2 separate regions of the Homo sapiens genome follow, and region 2 is linked to region 1. Evidence: promoter capture Hi-C in 16 types of primary human blood cells and fetal thymus (Javierre and others, 2016). All regions are on one chromosome and are shown on one strand. Each heading gives the region's core, a stretch centred on a gene start or on the middle of the fragment in contact. The rest is flanking DNA. Distances are from core to core; before and after follow the strand shown.

Region 1 (6,734 bases), core at 281-2,780:
CCTGTCTCAAAAACAAAACAAAGCAAAGCAAAACAAAACACCCCCAGCTCTCTGCAGGTGGGGGTGTGGAGCCTTAATTTGTAGCATTTGCCAATTTCCATGGTGTAAATATTCCCACCATGGCTAATTTCAAGCTACCAAGGTGATATCACATGGCATTTTTGCCCCCCATTATATAGTAATTTTACTGTGCAGCTACAATAGACGTAGGTAACCTCAAGATCACAGATAATGGCAAATGTAGTAAGATAACTAGGACGTGATGAGTATGTATTACTTGTACCTTTAATGTAATTTAATTGTATGTTTGCATAATTTAATTTTTAATAATGGCTGTGTTTAACAACCAGTTCCAAAATTCCTGAGACATAACAATCAGCTCGCTCCAGCCAGATCCAGCACACTGCTGTTTTAGAAGGGGAAACTGAGGCTCAGGAAAATAAGCCTCAGATAGAAGAAGGCAGGGCACAGACCCCTTCCCAAAACCATGTGACTCCCAGGCCAAGACTATGTAATGCCTGTCTTTCTTTCATCCCACCCTGGTCCACAGAGCATGGATGGTCCCCACAGCGCTGTGTGGCCTCCGAGAGGCTCTTGTCCTCTCTGGTCTCAGCCTGCCCGCATGGGGAGTGGCTGTGCCCTGCAGGCGAATACCTGCACAGGGTTCCTTCGCACCTGCCAGTGAGCAACACACGGATTCTTCCTTTCACTTTACAAACTGGGAAAGTGAAGCCCAGAAAGGGCAAGTGCTTGCCCCGGGTCATACAGGTGGACAGAGAGGGTCCCCACACCCCAGCTGGGGTGCAAAGGAGTGGATGCTGCAGCCCCAACCTGCGGGTCTGGATCTATGTGGCTGAGTGGAGGCAGCCTGACTAGGGAGGTCACTGAGCCCTCAGCAGTGGCCAAGCCCCGCACACCATCCCCTTCACCCACCCCACCCTTAGGCCTCCGAGGGGAGAGCTTCCCCCGCTCCCCCCCGCCAACTGGGGAGAGAATGGGCCAGGGGGAGGGACAATGTGGGCAGCGCCTCTGGGGTCTTCTCTGGCTCAGTCCCTTTATCTCTATCTCTTCACAGATCTCTGCGTCTCTGTATCTCTTTGTCTCTCCCTGTGTGTGTGTGGGGTCTCTCTCAGTCTTTGTCCCTCTGCGTCTCTGGGTCTCTCTGTCTCTGTCTCCCTGCGTCTCTCTCTCTCTGTCATCTGGCTCTTCCTTCATCTCCTTGCGCCTCTCCACCCTTTTGTAACTCGTCTCTCTCTCTTCGTGTCTCTCTATCTCTACGTCTCTCGATCTCTCTCTCTGCGTCTCTGGCGCTCTGCCCCGGCCTCTCTCTCCCCTTCTCTCCTCTCCAGTGCGCCTCTCGTCTCGGGCGAGAACACGCTCCCCGCCGGCGTGCCCAGACCCGCCTCCGCCCCCGGAGCCCCCGGAGCCCCCGGCGCCCCGACCAGCCCGGGCCTGCGCCTTTAAGGGCCGGCGGCGGGGGGCGGGGTCCCGGCGCCCCGCCCTGCCCGCCCCTCCCCCTGACGTCCCTTCCTCCCTCCCCAGCCCCTCCACCGCCTCCCTCCGCCGCCGCTTGGGCCGGCTCCGCGCCCCCTCCGCGGCCCCCGCCCGCCCGCCTGCCCGCCGCCCCCATGGCGCCCGGGGTCCCCGCTGCACGGGGCCACTAGGACCCTCGGCGTCCCTTCCCCTCCCCCGCCCTGCCCCCTCTCCCGCCGCGCGGACCCGGGCGTTCTCGGCGCCCAGCTTTTGAGCTCGCGTCCCCAGGCCGGCGGGGGGGGAGGGGAAGAGAGGGGACCCTGGGACCCCCGCCCCCCCCACCCGGCCGCCCCTGCCCCCCGGGACCCGGAGAAGATGTCTTCGCGGACGGTGCTGGCCCCGGGCAACGATCGGAACTCGGACACGGTGAGTGGGGCCCGGCCCCTTGGGGAGCCCTGGCTGGGTCCAGCCGCCAAACCCTTCTCCCCGTTGTACCCCTCGCCCCGCGAGCCCCTACCCTCGTTTCCTGGGCCCGACCCGGCTCGTCACCTCTCGACCCCTCCCGGACTTCCAGGCCTCTCCACCCTCCCCACCTTTTCCAGCCCAGCCCGACCCCTGGGGGCGCCCCTCTCTCGGGACCCCTCTCTTGTCCCCGTGCAGACCGCTTCCGCTCGGGTCTGTTCCCTCCAGGAAGCCCCTTCCCCTGCTTCCAGGAGCCCCTCCCTTCTCTTGCCTGTGCTAAGCCGTTTCCCCTCCAGGCCGTCCGCGTCCGACACCTCGCCCCCTCCCGGATTTGCAGGGCCCCTGACCCCCCAAGGCCCGGCCCTGGCACTCTCAGCAGGGCCTGGCCCAGTCCTGCCTCTGGCTCCGGCCTTCCCTGTCTGGGGCTGGGTGCCGGCTCCCCAGGAGCCCCCCTCCTCTTATTCCCAGCCCTCTGCCCCTCCAGGACGCACCCAGGGCGCCTGTGGGCAGCCCCTGGCAGGAAGCTGGTTTCCACCTCTCCTGGGCCCCGGCCCTTTTCTGGCTTCTTCAAGGTCTCTCCCGTCCCAGGCCTGGTCCCCATCTTCCAAGCAGCCCTGTCCCTAGATCCCAGCACCCCGGGGCCCCCAGATGCCACCTGGACCCTTTCTGGTCTCTTCCTCTCCCAGGAAGCCTTGGCCTCCAACTTCTAGGCCCTCACCTCACCCAGGCTGGTATTTCTAGGCCCTGGACCAGTCTGACTCCAGGCCTCATCCGCCCTCTATCAACTTCTCAGCTTCAGGCAGCCCCTTCCCCAACCCCCAACCTCTGGACCCCCTGCTAGGCCAAACTCAGACCCCTTCCCCACAAACCACCGTCCTTTCTCCTGCCCCAGGGCCTCCCCCTTCCTTGCTGGGAGTCTGGCCTTCCAAGGAAGCCCCCTCCTCAGCTTCAGAGGCCTTCCTCAGCTACAGGGCCTGGCCCCAGATCCTTCTTCCAGAAAACTCCTGGACCTGAAGCCTCTCGTCTTGCCCTGGTTTCAAGCCCTTTTCCCTTGGGTCAATCTGCTGGAAGCTTTCTCCCCAAATTTCTAGACCCCTTGACCTTCCCCAGGGCTCAGCCTTTATTCATCTGGGCTGCTCCTTGCCCAAGAAGTTCCTACCCCATACTTCCAGGCCCCCCAGACCCTTCTCTGGTTTCAAGGACTTCTCCTAGAAGCCCCCTTCTCTGATTCCTAGGAGCTTCCCCAAGACCCAGGGATTCCTGGCCTCTGACTTCCACTGCCCCCATGGCTTTGTCACTTTCCACCATTCCCAGGCGCCCCCTGCCCCTACACTGCTTCCCAGAGAGGCCCCTCCCCATCTCCTGTGTCTCTGATCACTGATCACTTCCAAAGACCTGCCCACCACCCAATCCTAGACTTCTCCCCACCTGGGATCTTTGTGGCTTTCTCCAAATCCTTCTGCCAGGTCCCTGTTCCCCTTCCCCCTGTTTCCCTCACCTCCGACAGACCCCCCCACACACACACACCATCAGAGAGATTTATATCTGTCCCTTCCTCATCTTGCAGATCCCTCCCTCACAGAGACCACCCCGCATCATCACTATGGGCCAGAACTCCAATTTGGAGTCTAATGAAATGCCTACCACCTCTGTTCCTTGGTCACTACAATCTACAGTGAGGTGCCAGGGGCTCCACAGTCCTGGGTTCCAATGCTGACATGGCCAGCTGGTTTGCCTTGTGTCCTCAGACAACCAGTTCTCCCTTTCTGAGCCTCAGTTTCCTGCCCTGGAAAATAGGGGTGACCGCTTGAGTGCCTCCAAGGCTTACTCGATTCAGGCGAAGGCTGGCACCTAGGAAGCACTCCACAAATGCCAGCTGCTATTGTGGCTGTGGGTATGAGTCAGACAGCCCGTGGATTCTCAGCTCAGGGCTGTTATTGGTTGTTGAGTGAGCCTGCAGATTCACTCCCAGCTTGCAGCCTCAGTTTCCTTATCTCTAAATCGGGTTGATGATGGCCCCCCACTGTTAGGGATGTTTGCAGGAGCCAGCGACGTGATGTGACTAAGGTGCACAGGGCCTGGCATGTGTCGTGGCTGTTGTGGTTATTAGCACTACTTTAATTGTTCAGATAAACTTGGGTTCACATCCTGTTTCTGTCCCTCCCTAGCTGTGTGACCTCGGGCAAGTAACCTTACCTCTCTGAGCCTTGGTTTCCTTGTCTGTTAAGTGGAACGCCTAATGAAGACTTGCTGTTCCCTGGGTTGTTAAGATGCGTGCATGGTGCGGATTTGAGGATGGCTAATCCCCTTTTCTCTCCTCCAACTCTTGTCACTAAGACCTGCCTGTCAGTCCTGGTGGGGAGTCACTTGCCTGCCTCTGGAATGGGAGGTTGCAGCCCCCTCTCCTGTTACCTGGTTACCATGGCTACAGCCACGTGGGGTCATGCTCCCCCACCCCAAGTTCCAGGGCCCCCCACCAGGGGGCCAGCCTCCCCAGGTTCCCTAGCAACAGTCCCGGGTGTTGGGGCGCCAGCCGGGCGGGAGGGAGCCAGGCCAGCTGGTGGTGCAGGCCAATTTTAGCTCCCACCCCCGGCCCCCAGGGGCTTTGTCACCCACTGCCCCAGCTGCCCCTCGCAGGGGTCCCTCAGCCATGCTGCCTTCAGCGTGGTGCCATCCCACCTCCAGCTGGCTGCCCTGGCGCCACCTGACAGGGCTTCTTCTCCAGGTCCTTATCTTGGTGGGGATCGGAGGCCTTATCTCCAGGATCTCCACCTGCCTCCCTGGTCTCTCCTGGGAAGAAGCCTGGGCCTGTGGGGAAGCCTGGCTCAGCACTCAGGAGGAATCAGCAGGCCGGGGTTCGCATCCCAGCACTCTGCTCCATCTGCCCTGTGACCTTGGGGGAGGGACTCCCCCTGCCTGAGCCTGGGTGTCCCCGTCTGAAGACTGCAGATCATAATTGGACCCACATTGGAGGCCAGGGTGAGGGCACGGCAGGCAGTGGCGGACGCGTGGTTAGAGCCCTGGCCGTGGTGGTTGGAACTGCCCAGCTGTGGGGAGGTTGTCTTTCTGCCCCTGTGAATGGACTGTGTGACCTTCACATGGCACCTTCCCTCTCCAAGGCTCAGTTTCTCTGCTGGAACATGGAGTCATTCCCTGGGCTACTGCAGGAATTAAGTGTAGGCGAGTTACCTGTTTACACAGGACTTGGTCCATAGCATGAGCTGCTTTGTAGAAATGGTTCATGACCCAGCGTGGTAGCTCACACCTATAATCCCAGAACTTTGGGAGACCCAGGCAGGAGGATGGCTTGAGCCTGGGAGCTGAAGACTAGCCCGGACAACATAGCAAGACTCCATCTCTACAAAAAAATTTAAAAATCAGCTGTGTGTGGTGGTGCACTCCTGTGGTCCCAGCTACTCAGGAGCCTGAGATGGGAGGATTTGCTTGAACCCAGGCAGTTGAGGCTCCAGTGAGCCTTGATTACACCACTGCACTTCAGCCTGGGTAACAGAGCAAGGCCCTGTCTCAAAAAAAAAAAAAAGGTTCAGGTGTGAGAGGCAGTGTGGTATTGTGACAGAGAAGAGCATCAAGTCTGGTGGAAACTATCGGGCACGGTGGCTCATGCCTGTAATCCCAGCACTTTGGGAGGCCGAGGTGGGCAGATCACCTGAGGTCAGGAGTTCAAGACCAGCCTGGCCAACATGGTGAAACCCCCTCTTTACTAAAAATACAAAAATTAGACGGTTGTGGTGGCGGGCGTCTGTAATCCCAGCCACTCGGGAGGCTGAGGCAGGAGAATTGCTTGAACCCAGGAGGTGGAGGTTGCAGTGAGTTGAGATCGTGCCATTGCACTCCAGCCTGGGCAACAAGAGTGAAACTCTGCCAAAAAAAAAAAAAAAAAAAAAAAATACTGGTGGAAACTGTTTGGGTTCAGATCGTGGGTCCGGGTCTCACTTTCCCCACCTGTAAAATGGAGATAATAGTGTGGTAATGGCCTCATATTGCATCAATGACCAGCATTAATTAAACGTTAGTTGTCGTTGCTATCAAGTGGCCCGGCAGTGTCTTTCTCAGAGACTTGGGCCCCCAGCCCATCAGCCTCTTGGCCTTTCTTCCTCCCCTCCTGTTGTCCTCCTGCTTCCCACTCCCAGCCGGAAGGGCACAGGCAGAACTGCCTTGGCGGGAGGCCTCAGGCACCCTGAGCCCCAGCCCTGAAAGGGAGACAGTCCCTGGGGCTTCCAATCAGGCCAGGGCAGCTCAGAGCAGGCAGGTGACCTGCGGGGGAGAGAGGCCAGGGAGGGACAGGACAGTAGGAACAGAACATCAGGAGGAGAGAAGCCATGGTGTGGGAGACAGCAAGTCAGGGCGCTTCTCAAGCCCTGGGTGTTTCAGGGGGTGGCAGAAGCAACAGTGTTTCCCATGGAAGGAGGATAACAGGGATTCAACCAGGTCTCAGGGCCAGTGAAAGACTTGGTTACCCTGCAGGGGGTGGTGGCTCAGGCCTGTAATGCCAGCACTTTGGGAGGCCGAGGTGGGTGGATCACCTGAGGTCAGGAGTTCAAGACCAACCTGGCCAACATGATGAAACCTCGTCTCTACTAAAAATACAAAATTAACCAGGTGTGGTGGCACATGCCTGTAATCCCAGCTACTCGGGAAAGCTGAGGCAGGAGAATCGCTTGAACCCAGGAGGCAGAGGTTGCAGTGAGCCAGACTGGGCCACTGCACTCCAGCTTGGGCAACAAGAGTGAAACTCTGTGTCAAAAAGAAAAAAAATAAGACTTGGTTACAATGTTTGG
Region 2 (6,000 bases), core at 2,609-5,108, 280 kb before region 1:
TATTAGGGAGGCCGAAGAGGGAGGATCGCTTGAGCCCAGGAGGTCAAGGCTGCAATGGGCCGTGATGATACTACTGCACTCCAGCCTAGGCAACAGAGTGAGACTGTATCTCAAACAAACAAAAACCTTAGGAAATATATAGTGAAACAGTGAAAAAAAAAAGTTCATGAGGCCGGGTGCAGTGGCTCACGCCTGTAATCCCAGCACTTTGGGAGACCAAGGTAGGTGAATCACCTGAGGTCGGGAGTTCCAGACCAGCCTGACCAACATGGAGAAACCCATCTCTGCAAAAAATACAAAATTAGCCGGGCATGGCGGCTTATGCCTGTAATCCCAGCTATTCAGGAGGCTGAGGCAGGAGAATCGCTTGAACCCGGGAGGCGGAGGTTGCAGTGAGCCGAGATCATGCCATTTTACTCCAGCCTGGGCAACAAGAGTGAAACTCTGTCCCAAAAAAAAAAAAAAACAACTCATGATCCCTGATGTAGTCACTGATCACATTCTAGACTAGAGCAGAACTGCCTGCCTGGTGTCCTCCAAGAGTGTCACACAGGACACTGAGAAACTGCAGGAAAGAAACCTCCCCACTCTGTTAAGTTGCAAAACTGACATGTGTGCCTCAAAAATTCCTGCCATGTGCCCTACGCTTCTCAGTCATGCGCCCCTGTCCCTTACCGTCTCCACTTCACCTCCCCTCCCCATGGCCACGTAAAGACTTCAGATTTTCTTATATATCACCTTCTTTTTTTTCATGCTGCAAGCAGCTCTGCATGAAAATTATTTTTATCTTTCCCTTCATTTTTACATAAGAGGTAGCCTGTTTTACACACTGTTCTGCTCCTTGATTTTTTTCATTAACAATATATCTTTGAAATCTTTCCACGTCAGTGCATAGGGAGCTTCCTTCAGAGAGACATTTTTAATACAAGTCACACTGTAGGCTAATTTCCTTTCTTAGAACTAGGCAGCATCAAACATCAGTTCGGGTGGGTGCTCGGAGACCATCTTGGCTGCAGTTCTTAAAATGGGATCCAGGGTTTGTTTTCAGGGGCCCATGAACTCCTTGTAGCTTGAAGCTGATTATGTGGGAATAGCCTTTCTAGATAGCGGGTGGCGTCTGTGTTTTTGAGCACATGTGGTTACCTGGAGTGGGAGGTGGAGCAGGAACTGGGTATATAAAGGAATGGGGTGGGAGGGAGAGTTTTGATTATACGTCTTTTCATATATTTAAAAATGTTCTGAACCTGTGACTGTAGAATACCTATTTGGGTGGGAGAAAGGATTTAATGTCTGTTTTCTTTGCTTACTCAAGTACATCAGGAAGCATTAGAAAGGTCCAGTCTCCTGCAGGCCTGGGTGCATGGATGAGGGGCCATGGCCATGAGCCCTCTGAGAGGGTCCACAGAACTGTGGGCGTGTGGATACACACAGGACGTTCTTCAGGGGACTGGGGATCTGGAATCCAAAAAGGCCTGGCCTTGTTTTATACATGGGGATCTAGAAGCCCAGAGGGGTTAGGACCCCCACAGCCACACACTAAGCCAGGGGCAGAGCTGCCTGGGGGCATCACTGCTTCTACACTCTCCCCTGGTGTGTTTACTAAAATGAGAGCCTCTGCTGGAGGCATCGGTATCCCCAGAGATTGCCAGGTCCAGACCTTCCCCAGACGTGCATATCAGGGACTTCATGGGGAGGTAGCGATGGCTCAGCTGGACCGTGGCCCCTAAGACCCTGGACCCCAGGGCCTTGTGGCTTCTACAGGCAGAGGCAAGTTCCTGTGCCTGATCCTGCCCCTGATCAGGGCTCAGCAGGGAGGCACCCCACCCACACTAGAATTTACTCATAGTGTTTTTCTGCTCCAAAGTTTTTTGTATGCCTTTTTCCTATGATTAAAATAACAGTAATAGCTAACACTTCTCAGTCACTTACTGGGTATGCACCAGGCTCCATTCTGAGGTACGTGTGCGTGTGTCAGATGTATATACACGCTATATAAACATATATATAATTTAATGTGTTTAATGCTTATAAACTACCCTATGAGAGTAGGCACTGTTATTATCCCCATTTCAACCATTGAAGTTGACCACTGAGGTCACAGTAAGTAGCAGAGCTGGGCTTCAGATGAAGATACTGTAGTTTAGAGGCTGGGCTCATAACCTCTTCTGCTGTATGGTTATCATACCTATAATTAATAAGTACTTGAATCATTTAATCACATGGCTGCATGCAGCTGAGAAACCTCCATTAACACAGTACAGGTTCATTTCTCTCTGATATACCAGTCTGGATGGAGGCAGACTAGGATTCTGCAGTCTTCAGTGACCCAGACTCCTTGCTGTTTGTTGTGCCATTGCTAGGTTTTTCCCTTTATCCTCATAGCCCAAGACAGCTGCTGAAGATTCAGCCATCACATCCACACTCCAGGCAACAGGAGAGAAGAATAAATCAAGAAGGAATATTTCTTCTCTTTAAGGACACTTTTTTTTTTTTTTTTTTGAGATGGAGTCTTACTCTGTCACCCAGACTGGAGTCCAGTGGCATGATCTCGGCTCACTGCGACCTCCACCTCCCAGGTTCAAGCGATTCTTTTGCCTCCGCCTACCAAGTAGCTGGGATTACAGGCGCCCGCCACCACGCCCGGCTAATTTTTGTATTTTTAGTAGAGATGGGGTTTCACCATGTTGGCCAGGTTGGTCTCGAACTCCTGACCTCAAGTGTTGGCTTCCCAAAGTGCTGGGATTATAGGTGTAAGCCACCACGCCCAGCCTCGTTTTGGTTTTGGTATCTGTTGTTGCTGCTGATTCTCGCTCATAATGTCGTTTCCTTTTGTGCCTGGCTTATCTCTGTCTGTGTCCTAGTCATTATACTTGAAAAGTTATTTGTAGGAATTTCAGGGCTAGGATGAGCATATTTTCCTACAGAGAGGATTGCCTTTGCTTCTGCCTGGGGGCATTACCAAGTCCTAGGTTTCCTTGCACCAGGTTCAGGGCTTGAGCTGCCCTTCGTGACTCCTTATCCCACGAGTGGCCTTGCATACTTCGCCCTGCATACCTGTTGTGCAACTCCTGGGAATGGGTAGGCCACCTGGTTCCTTCCTTCTCAGGGGTGGAGGCTTGCACCTTGTGGGGTCTTAGTTTCCTATAGGGTAGGTCTCTGGTTACCTCATATGTTGTATGTGCCCTGGGCTAGCATTTTTTTTTTTTTTTTTGAGACAGGGTCTCACTCTGTTGCCCAGGCTGGAGTGCAGTGGCATGATCGTGGTTCACTGCAGCCTCGACCTCCTGGGCTCAGGTGATTCTCCCACCTCAGCCTCCTGAGTAGCTGGGAATATAGGCATGGTGCGTGCTGCCATGCCTGGCTAATTTTTGTATTTTTTGTAGAAACTGTGTGTTGCCCAGGCTGGTCTCAAACTCCTGGGCTCAAGCAATCCACCTACCTCAGCCTCCCAGCGTGCTGGGGTTACAGGTGTGAGCCACCGCGCCCAGCCTAGGCCAGCATTTTTGTCACCCACCAAAACACCTAGCAGATGTCCTCGGACACATGAAGAAGCTTATAGGGCTCCTTTACTTATTCTTTTTTTTTTTTTCCCCTAGACCTGCAAATCCAAGATCCTTTACTTCTTTTTTTTTTTTTCCTTGAGATGGACTTTTTGCTCTTGTTGCCCAGGCTGGAGTGCCATGGCACGATCTCGGTTCACTGCAACCTCCTTCTCCTGGGTTCAAGCGATTCTCCTGCCCCAGCTTCCCGAATAGCTGGGATTACAGGCATGCACCACCACTCCTGGCTAATTTTTGTATTTTTAGTAGAGATGGGGTTTCACCATGTTGGCCAGGCTGGTCTTGAACTCCTGACCTCAGGTGATCCACCCACCTCGGCCTCCCAAAGTGCTGGGATTACAGGCTTGAGCCACCGCGCCCGGCCGATCCTTTACTACTTTAGGATTCCCACTTTCCCTTCAGTTTTTGCCTGAAGGTTTGGTAACCTACAGTCGTGTCCATTCTTCAGAGCTGTCTATTTATATATATTCATATGTAAACTTGATAAAAATTACATGCATGAGAACAAATACGAGAATACGTGAGCAGCATATATTCTCATTCTATCAATATGTATAATTACAAATATAAAATATATTGATATTTTCTTAGTGTATTAATTTTATCAAGCTTTTCCAATTTTTTCCAGTGAGAGGGTTGGTCTGAATAATTAAGCCCACTGTTACTAAAATTGGAACTAACGTATCACTTACTATCTGCTTCTCCAAAAATTCTCCAAAAGTTCAGAAATGTTGCTCTTTCTAAGCTTCTGTGCCTTCGGTTCTTTTCCTTTTCTTTTTTAAAAAATTTAATTAATTAATTGATTAATTTTTTTGGGACAAGCTCTCTATCTCCCAGGCTGGAGTGCAGTGGCGCAATCACGTCTCACTGCAGCCTTGACCGTCAGGGCTCAAGTGACTCTCTCACCTCAGTCCCCCAAGTAGCTGGGACTACAGGCATGGGCCACCATGCCCAGCTAATTTTTATATTTTTTGTAGAGACGGGATTTCATCATGTTGCCCAGGCTGGTCTCAAACTTTTGAGCTCAAGCAATCCGCCTGCCTCAGCTTCCCAAAGTGCTGGGATTACAAGCATGAGCTGCTACACCTGACCCAATTATACTTTTTTTTTTTTTTTTTTTTTTGAGATGGAGTCTCACTCTGTTGCAAGGCTGGAGGGCAGTGGCGCAATCTCGGCTCACTGCAACCTACGCCTCCCGGGTTCAAGTGATTCTCCTGCCTCAGCCTCCCAAGTAGATGGGACTAGAGGCACGCACCACCAGGCCCAGTTAATTTTTGTATTTTTAGTAGAGACAGGGTTTCACCATGTTGGCCACGATGATCTCGATTTCTTGACCTCGTGATTTGCCCACTTCAGCCTCCCAAAGTTACAGGCATGAGCCACTGTGCCTGGCCTCTATACTTCTTAAGTTATTTTAAAATGTGTAATTAAATTACTATTGACTAGAGTTGCCGTGTTTTGCTACCAAATACTAGATCTCATTCATTCTTTTTTTTTTTGAGATGGAGTCTCGCTCTGTTGCCCAGGCTGGAGTGCAGTGGCGCGATCTTGGCTCACTGCAACCTCTGCCTCCTGGGTTCACACCATTCTCCTGCCTCAGCCTCCGGAGTAGCTGGGACTACAGGCGCCCGCCACCATGCCCAGCTAATTTTTTTGTATTTTTTAGTAGAGACAGGGTTTCACCATGTTAGCCAGGATGGTCTCAATCTCCTGACCTCGTGATCCGCCCGCCTTGGCCTCCCAAAGTGCTGGGATTACAGGCATGAGCCGCCGCGCCCGTCCTCGTTCATTCTATTTTTTGTAGCCATTAACCATCCCCGGTTCTGTGCTTTTGAAGCGCTAGGATTCCAGATTCTTTCTTTTAAAAATTTTATGTTTATTATTTTTTCTTTATTTCTTTTTTCTTTTAATTCATCCATCTGCACACTGAAGGGGTTCCAGATTCTTAGTCTCCTCTCGGGGGATCCCAGGGGGCTGGATGGCAGGTTTCCCAGTCTGAGTCAAGAGTCAGCCCCTGCAGCCCTGTGGTCACCAGGAGCTCCTGCAGGATTTAGAGTCAAGGGTCTGCATGCAGACCAGGGCAGTGCCAGCTACCCCCACACACTGGCAAACGGTGGCATCTGGGCTCCCTCCCCAGATGTGGTCTTTAGGGACATCTTATCTCCTTGCCAGCCCTGTGACTACCTTCTCAGGGCCTCCCTGACTTGGTCACTAGCCCCAGGTCAGGCGCCAGCATGTGCTAAGTCAGAAGGAAGTCAGGCGGGTCTATGGCGGAGAGCCAAGGCTTGGGGACTCACCACCTTGCTGCTTCTCTCCTCAGGATCTTCATCATCTGGGCCATCAGCAGTTGGTTCCGCCGAGGGCCGGCCCCTCAGGACCAGGCGGGCCCCGGAGGAGCTCCACGCGTCGCCAGCCGCAACCTGTTCCCCAAAGACACTTT

The links. The method cuts DNA at HindIII sites, captures the fragments that hold promoters and counts their contacts. A CHiCAGO score of 5 or more calls a contact.
Region 2: a fragment that was not itself captured here is called in contact with the fragment with the promoter of MARK4 in region 1 in 1 of 17 cell types (M0 macrophages); the score reaches 6.6 in M0 macrophages.

Annotation. Positions count from the first base shown.
Region 1 is chr19:45,249,741-45,256,474 of GRCh38, forward strand. It overlaps MARK4 (microtubule affinity regulating kinase 4), which reads left to right and starts at 1,531. Exons shown (of 17, transcript NM_001199867.2): 1 at 1,531-1,899. The coding sequence starts at 1,849. RefSeq lists silencers at 1,206-1,585, 1,816-1,965 and an enhancer at 2,439-2,995. The HindIII fragment of the contact is 10,557 bases long and covers 1-3,004 here.
Region 2 is chr19:44,967,207-44,973,206 of GRCh38, forward strand. CLPTM1 (CLPTM1 regulator of GABA type A receptor forward trafficking) reads left to right here. Exons shown (of 14, transcript NM_001294.4): 3 at 5,881-6,000. Among named protein-coding and RNA genes, the nearest start is that of CLPTM1, 15 kb to the left of the region's middle. The HindIII fragment of the contact is 617 bases long and covers 3,551-4,167 here.